Regions from separate parts of the Homo sapiens genome. Here regions 2 and 3 are each linked to region 1. Evidence: promoter capture Hi-C in 16 types of primary human blood cells and fetal thymus (Javierre and others, 2016). All regions are on one chromosome and are shown on one strand. Each heading gives the region's core, a stretch centred on a gene start or on the middle of the fragment in contact. The rest is flanking DNA. Distances are from core to core; before and after follow the strand shown.

The links. The method cuts DNA at HindIII sites, captures the fragments that hold promoters and counts their contacts. A CHiCAGO score of 5 or more calls a contact.
Region 2: a contact is called between a fragment that was not itself captured here and the fragment with the promoter of MAN1C1 in region 1, in 4 of 17 cell types (activated CD4 T cells, non-activated CD4 T cells, naive CD4 T cells and 1 more). The highest score is 6.8, in activated CD4 T cells.
Region 3: a contact is called between a fragment that was not itself captured here and the fragment with the promoter of MAN1C1 in region 1, in 1 of 17 cell types (naive CD4 T cells). The highest score is 5.2, in naive CD4 T cells.

Annotation. Positions count from the first base shown.
Region 1 is chr1:25,615,497-25,618,196 of GRCh38, forward strand. MAN1C1 (mannosidase alpha class 1C member 1) reads left to right here and starts at 1,295. Exons shown (of 12, transcript NM_020379.4): 1 at 1,295-2,700. The coding sequence starts at 2,302. RefSeq lists an enhancer at 561-730 and silencers at 921-1,210, 1,231-1,520. The HindIII fragment of the contact is 10,837 bases long and covers 1-2,700 here.
Region 2 is chr1:25,829,442-25,832,141 of GRCh38, forward strand. It overlaps MTFR1L (mitochondrial fission regulator 1 like), which reads left to right. Exons shown (of 7, transcript NM_001099625.2): 6 at 68-389; 7 at 2,480-2,700. The coding sequence ends at 2,585. It also overlaps a transcript of AUNIP not described here. Among named protein-coding and RNA genes, the nearest start is that of MTFR1L, 11 kb to the left of the region's middle. The HindIII fragment of the contact is 1,626 bases long and covers 510-2,135 here.
Region 3 is chr1:25,850,494-25,853,193 of GRCh38, forward strand. The region is part of intron 1 of AUNIP (aurora kinase A and ninein interacting protein); the gene reads right to left. Among named protein-coding and RNA genes, the nearest start is that of AUNIP, 7.6 kb to the right of the region's middle. The HindIII fragment of the contact is 2,900 bases long and covers 1-2,700 here.

The sequences.
Region 1 (2,700 bases), core at 45-2,544:
TGCATTTCATTTTAAATTGCAGCTGAAAGTAGATATTTTCCCTCTTGCCTATTACAAACCTCTTAATTTGTCTCTCCCTCTGCTGTTATTTGTCTCTATAAAGTGTTTTGCATGAAAGACCCACACAGCACAATGTTGCTTCACCCTGGGTTAGGTTTAACAGGAAGGGAAGATGCAGAGACTAAGTCCAAGGAGGAAGATGTGAGGGCCTTGGGGTTGAGGACACGCGTGTCTGGGAGTTGATGCCTGGCTGTTTTTGGAGGTTATCTGTTGCCTGAGTGTCTGTGGGTATGCGGGTGCACATGTCCATGTTTGTACTAATTTACATATATGTCTATGCATACTGTGGTATAATCACTTGGGTGTCCATACCCAAATTAAGTGTATGTTTGAGTGCATGTACACACCCACATGCCAGTCTCTGTGTGCATATAGATCTATGCCCAGACGCACACATGTGCATATAAACACACGTAGGCATCAAGGTAGACGTCCGTCACATTATGTGTGTGGTCTTCTGTAGACACGCCCGGGGCTCTCTTCCTTTCGCTGCTTCTCAAGGCTGCGGTCAGCCTCCCTCCGTGCTCCACCCAGGAGCCCTGGCCCCGTTTAGGGTTGTGGGAAAAGGAAGGCACGCCAGTGGTCTGCGAGGGGGCCAGTGGAAACATCACCTCCGCCGACCCGGCCGCGGTCACAGCTCTCTGGCTTGGCTCCAGCCACCAGCAGCACCCCTGCAGCCCGGCGTTAGCGCTGAGAAGCCCGGGGCAGCCGCCAGGGCGCGGGCTGCCAGCTCCCTGACAACCCCGGGCTGGCACTCGGGGGCGAGAGAGGTCACCCAGCGACGGGCACACCCCTCCAGAGCAACACCGTCTCCGGCCCGCTTCCGGGGGCCACCAACCCGAGCCTCGCGGGCGGGCTGGGGGGTGGTCTCTGTCGCTTGGGGTCCAGCGAAGGCTGGGCAGTAACCAATGGACGACTGTGGCCCAACGGGGATCCCTCGGATGCAGCCAATGCCCTCGTTGCGCTCTCCGCCCCCGCCCTCGCCTGCCCCGCGCCGCTGGACCATTGGCGCCCGCTGGATGGGGGGTGCGCGCGACGCCTGCCCTTCGGGGAGGGCGGGGCTTGGAGCGGGCTGCGCTCCCGCCCGCGCTCGGCCTCTGCCCCGCCCCCGGACGCGCGGCCCTCAGCCGGCTGCGGCGCGGCGGCGGCGGGAGGGGGCGCGGGGCGCGCGCGTGGGCGTGGCCGGCGGGCGTGGCCGGCGGGCGGCAGGAGGCGGGGCGGCGGGCGCTGTCGCAGTGAAAGCCCGAGCGGCGGCGGCGGCGGGGACGGCGGTGGAGGCGGCCGGGTGGCTGTGCGCGCGTGTGGGGCGCAGGCTCGGCGGCAGCGGCCGGTCTGGAGCGGCCGCTGCGAGGAAGACAGCTGCAGCGGGGGAGGCGCGGCCAGGGCTGCGCGCTCCGCGGAGCCGGCGGGGCCGGGAACAGGTGATCCCAGTGGGAGCCCCGCGCCCTGCCGAGTTCGAGGGGCGGGAGCCCGCGCTCCCGGGCGCATCTGCAGCCGCCCAGCCGCGGCTCCGGACCCAGGCATCCCTGCGCTGTCTGGGGCCCGGGGGAAGCCCCCTGCCCCCGCAGGCTCGGAAGTGCCTGCTCCTGCTCCCTGGCCACTCCGGCTCCCAGCTCCCGGCGCCCTCTCCGCGGCGGAGAAAGTTGTGGACGTGTCCCGATAGTCGAGCCCGGGCGCTGTCGCGACCGGGCCGGGTGTGCGCGCGCTCGGGGCGGCGCTGACACGCCAGCCCCCCATCGCCTCGGTCCCCTCCGGAAACTGCTTCTGAAGCTGAAACTTTGGGCGCCTACCAGCGCGGGCGGGAGCCTAGGGGGCGGAGGGCGGCTTGGTGCGGGCCTGCGGGCGCCCCTCGGCGCGGACAGCCGGGACGCCGCGGACGGCATGTGACGGTCCCGGCGGCCGCAGCGCGGGAAGGCGCGGGCCCCGGCGCGGCGGGGAGGGCTCGGCCGGAGGGGAGGCTGCGGCGCGCGGCCGGTCGCTGCGGGCCCGGGCCCCAAGCCGTGCCGCTCCGCTCGCCCGGGCCCCGCCGAGGCCGCTGCGCCCCCGCCTCCTCGCGGGAGGACTCGCTCCAAACTCCCTGAACTTCGGGGACAGTCCCCCGAAGCGGCGAAACTCTCAGGGTTGGCAACCCTGCCCAGGGACCCCCATCCCGGGCGGCGCTCCGGACGCCCTCCCCTCACCGCGCCCCCGCAGACACGTGCCTGGACTCCGAGGGCTTCTGGAGCCACCGGCCGGGCCACGATGCTCATGAGGAAAGTGCCCGGCTTCGTCCCGGCCTCCCCGTGGGGGCTGCGGCTGCCGCAGAAGTTCCTCTTCCTCCTCTTCCTCTCGGGCCTGGTCACCCTGTGCTTCGGGGCCCTCTTCCTGCTGCCCCACTCCTCTCGCCTCAAGCGCCTCTTCCTGGCCCCCCGGACCCAGCAGCCTGGTCTGGAAGTGGTGGCTGAAATCGCCGGCCATGCCCCGGCCCGCGAGCAGGAGCCGCCTCCCAACCCGGCCCCCGCCGCGCCGGCCCCGGGCGAGGATGACCCCAGCAGCTGGGCCAGTCCCCGCCGCAGGAAAGGGGGGCTGCGGCGCACCCGCCCCACTGGACCCCGCGAGGAGGCCACGGCGGCCCGGGGCAATAGCATCCCGGCCTCCAGG
Region 2 (2,700 bases), core at 73-2,572, 210 kb after region 1:
GGGGAGAAGATATTGCTACTGTGTTCTAGCCCCAATGTCCACCCATGCCTATTGTTTTCTCTTTCAGCTTCGGCTTCATTAACGCCAGATTTCTTATCTCCAGGAAGTTCAAATGTCTCTTCTCCCTTACCTTGTTTTGGATCCTCATTCCACTCTACAACTTCCTTTGTCATTAGTGACATCACCGAGGAGACAGAGGTGGAGGTCCCTGAGCTTCCATCAGTCCCCCTGCTTTGTTCTGCCAGCCCTGAATGTTGCAAACCAGAACACAAAGCTGCCTGCAGTTCGTCTGAAGAGGATGACTGCGTCTCTTTGTCCAAGGCCAGCAGCTTTGCAGACATGATGGGTATCCTGAAGGACTTTCACCGAATGAAACAGAGTCAAGATCTGTAAGTATCTGATGAGGAGCTCTGGTATCTATTTACTCAGAGTTGCCCATGGCCAATTATGTAATGCAACATACTTACATAGTAAGTTCTTAGTAGTACCATATGTTATGTCATTCATAAAGCTTGCTGACTACCTGCTTGCCAGTGCCTGGGGCCCCAGTTTGAGGAAAGAGCAACACTACATTTATTGGGTTTGGTCACCCCAACCAAATATGAGGCTAGTAGGGATTTTACAAGAAGGCTCATCTAATCCAACTTCTGTCCTCAGGTGGCTTTACCACTTCAGTCCTCATACTGCTAGTGACAGTGTCTTCATGGCCCACCCTTCAAAGTGAGGGGTTGCATGACATTATGTTTTGTTATGTTTTCTTATCTCAAATTGGTAGACTTTTTTGGTGGGAGGAGAATTTCATAAAGTTGGAGATTTCTGCTTTAAAATACAGTGGTCCATTGTGCAAACAAACCCTGCACATTCAGTGATTTGAGAATAAGGCTTTTGAGACTCACCAGTAGTTCCGAAACCTAGCTGCCCATCAGAATTGCTCAGATTTGTTAAAAATACACCTTTAACTTACTAAAGTAGAACCCCAAGGAGTGGAGCTCTAGGTTTTTCCGATGGAGTATGAGGGTCTTTGGGGAATACCTACCTTGAAAAACTTCATCTGGCAAAGAAGCCTCAGGGAGTCACCCCATTGCATAGTGTTTCTCCAGTTGTGGGTTGCGGTTTCAACAGCTGCACAGGACTCACCAGAGGAGCTTGGTTTGAATGCAGGTTCCTGGGCATTTGAGAGCCAGACCTTGATGGCCAGCACCCAGCTTGTGCAGCTCTGTTTGTTAATGCAGATGAAAAACTGTTTTGGGGACAGGGAAGCGAGGTCCTCTCCTGAGTTGATAAAGTTCTTGTTAAAGGGAAAGTTACTTGCCCTGGATCCCTTTTTGTCTCCTGGGATCCATTTCCCTCTGAAAAGTAGACCAGGCTAAGTGACTCCCTCATTGCTTCCTGGCAGTTGACCCATTTAGGGAAGTCACTCTTAACCTTCCTTCACTGGCCCTAGTCAGGTTGGTCATACTCACCCATATCTCTTTGGTCTTCCACATTCCCAAATTCAGTTGCTGCTGTTTTTGGTCTTCTCTGAGCTGTCTTCTTCTGAACAAAATGTTTTATAGGTTGACTCTCAAACTTTCTCTTACTTGCCTTTTGGACCAAATTAGATTCAAGACCCTTATTGCTAGCCCCCTCCTCCCACTTGTGTCCTCAGATCAGAAGGAGCTGGGTCAGTGAATAAGAATGGGAAAGTACCCCAGTCAGCAAAGGTTCAGATATGTCACCAACCAAACGCAGTCCCTCTTGTTTTTGCTTTGAAGGTTGAATAGTCAGTCTTGGCTCTTATATTTAGCTTAATCACCAGTAAAACACCTTCATGATGAATGTATATAAGTTCACTAGGATTTCAAGCAACTATTTTCCAGGTATCTAGGACCCTCTTATATGATGTATCAGATAACTTGGGCCTACTTCAGTCTGGAGTTGGTTTTGTTCCCATGAGTTTCTTATGTGAATGTTTTGCTCTAATTCTGGCTCTCATAAAAAATCATCTCCCCTGAAGGGGAGACCCGGTGGTAGGAAATCCCAAGCACACCTTTTCTCCAGAACTATCAAGGGTCAGAATAGCCAAGAGTCATCAGTCACTTCCCCTGCTGACCCTCTGGGGAAATGCTACTAAGAAAACAGGGCCAGAAGGCAGAAGCTTAGCCACCAGAGGCCAACTCTAACAGACTGATGGTCCTTTACTTTGCCCATACTTTATAGCTATTTCAGGAAATAGTAAAGCATTCTAGTTAATAGATGAGATCTGGAACCAGCTAGTTTGGTTCTGAACTCTGGATTCACCGCTTACTTGCTGAGTGACTAGTGACCTTGGGCAACTTGTATAACCTTTCTGTGCTTCAATTTCCTTATCTGTGAAAGGGAATTGTAATGGCACCTACCTCGTAAGATTGTTGTGAGGATTCAACGAGATAATGTATTCAAAAGATATACAGCACTACACAGGAAAGAGTAAGTACTCAAGCTATTATTGTGTCTCTAGGAACCGGAGTTTATTGAAGGAGGAAGACCCTGCTGTGCTTATCTCTGAGGTCCTAAGGAGGAAGTTTGCTCTAAAGGAAGAAGATATCAGTAGAAAAGGAAATTGACAACCCTCAGCTCTGCAAACTCAGTCTCATGCTCCTGGAATACCTTCAATAGCTGCCTTCCTCACCGCAGATGTTTCTGCCTCTTAAGGATAGATCTTCTGCAACAGTCTTGCTG
Region 3 (2,700 bases), core at 102-2,601, 240 kb after region 1:
CACTGATTCTGTAGATCAATTGGGGCATATTCCTATCTTAAGTCTTCTGATCAATGAACATGTAATGTCTTTCCATTATTTACATTTTTAATTTCTTTCAATGAGTTTTATAGTTTCCAGTGTATGTCTTGCACTGTTTTGTTAAATTTATGCCTAAGTATTTTATTCTATTTGATTCTATTGTAAATGAAATTATTTCCTTAGTTTCATTTTTTGGATAAAATCCTACCATACGGAAGTACAATTGATTTTTGTATCCTGTCACACTGCTGAACTCATTTTTTCTAATTTTTTTAAGTGGATTCCTTAGGATTTTCTACACATAAGATCATATTTTCTGCAAACAGATAATTTTACTTCTTCCTTTTTAATCTGGGTATCTTTTATTTCTTTTTCTTGCTAAATTTCCCTGCATAAAATCTCTAGTGCAATGGTAAACAGAGTGGCAAGATCTTTGTCTTGTTGCTGATTTAGGAGTGGAAACATTCAGTCTTCTTCCATTAAGTATGATGTTAACTGGGTTTTCATAGATGCCCTTTGTGAGGCTGAGAAAATTCCCTTTTATTCCTGGTCTGTTGAGTGTTTTAATCACAAAATGATGTCAGTCAAAATGCTTTTTCTGTGTCTATTGACATGATTATGTGGTTTTTGTCTTTTATGCTATTAGTATGGTATATTAATTGGTTTTCAAATTTAAACCAACCTTGCATTCCTAAGATAAATTCCTCTTGGTCATGATTTATAATCCTTTTTATGTGTTGCTAAATTTGTTTTGCTTGTATTTTGTTGAGTATTTTTGTATCTGTATTCATAAAGGATACCAGACCATAATTTCCTTTTCTTGTGATATCTTGGTCTAGTTTTAGTATCAGAGTAATACTGGCCTCAAAATGAGTTGGAAAGTGTTCCCTCCTCTTCTATTCTATTTTTTTGAGAGAGTCTGAAGGATTGGTATAATTCTTTAAATGTTTGGTAGAATTCACCAGAGAAACTATCTGGACCTGGACTTTTCTTTGCAGGAAGTTTTAAAATTACTAATTCAATCTCTTCGTTATAGGTCTATAGACCAAAGGAATTGAACTGAAAGTCCAGAAGTAAACCCTTACATTTACAGTCAGTTGATTTTTATCTATTTCTTCTTGAGGCAAGTTTGGTAGTCTGTGACTTCCTAGGAATTTGTCCATTTCATCTAAGTTATCTAAATGTGTTAGCATACAGTTGTTTATAGTATTCTAATTATTTTTATCTCTTTATTTTCTTTTTTAGACAGTCTCACTCTGTCGCCCAGGCTGGAATGCAGTGGCACAATCTCGGCTCACTGCAACCTGTCTCCCGGGTTCAAGTGATTCTCCTGCCTCAGCCTCCCGAGTAGCTGGGACTACAGGCACACACCAACATAACTGGCTAATTTCTGTATTTTTAGTAGAGATAGGGTTTTTTCAGCCACCTCACCTGGCCTCTTGCTGACTGACTGATTGAGACAGGGTGTCACTCTCTTACCCAGGCTGGAGTGCAGTGGCTCAATCACCGCTCAGTGCAGCCTCAACCTCCCTGGGTTCAGTGATCCTTACACCTCAGCCTCCTGAGTAGCTGGAACTACAGGCATGTACCACCACATCAGGCTAATTTTTGTATTTTTTGGTAGAGATAGGGTCTCCCTATGTTGCCCAGGCTGGTCTTGAACTCCTGGGTTCAGGGGATCCTCCCACCTCAGCCTCCTAAAATGCTGGGATTATAGGTGTGAGCCACTGTGCTCTCTTTTATTCTTGATCAGTCTAGCTAAAGGTGTGTTGAGTTTGTTGATCTTTGCAAAGAACCAACTTTTGATGTTGATTGTTTTTCTTTACTATTTATTTTCACTCTAAATTGTATTATTTCCTTCCTTCTGGTCACTATGGGTTTAGATTGCTCTTCTTTTTCTAGTTTCTTAAGGTAGAAGATTAGATTATTTAAGGTTTTTTTTTTTGTTGTTTTTTTTTTTGAGACAGGAGTTTCACTCTTGTTGCCCAGGCTGGAGTTCACTGCAACCTCCGCCTCCTGGGTTCAAGCAGTTCTCCTGCCTCAGCCTCCTGAGTAGCTGGGATTACAGGCGCCTGCCACCACGCACAGCTAATTTTGGTATTTTTAGTAGAGACAGGGTTTCGCCGTGTTGGCCAGGTTGGTCTTAAACTCCTGACCTCGGGTGATCCACCCACCTCAGCCTCCCAAACTGTTGGGATTACAGGTGTGAGCCACTGCGCCTGGCCGAGATTCTTTTTAATAAAAGCATTTACAGCTATACATATCCCTCTAAGCATAGTGTTAGTTGCATCCCATAAATCTTGGTGCATTATATTTTTGTTTTCATTTATCTCAAAGTACTTTCTATTATAATTTTCCTTTTGATTTCTTCTTTGACTCTTGGTTATTTAGAAATGTGCTGTTTAATTTCAACCTATTTGTGGATTTTCTACTTTTTCTTCTGTTACTGATTTCTACTTTCATTCCATTATGGAGAATATACTTTGTATGATTTCCATCTTTCTAAATTTATTGAGATTTGTTTTGTGACCTAGTATTTGTGGAGAATGTTCCATGTGTCATGGAGAAGACTATGTATTCTGCTGTTGTTGGGTAGACTGTTCTATATTTTTGTCTGTTAGGTCTACCTGGTTTATAGTATTGTTCAAATCTTTTTTCCTTGTTGATATCCATGATTGA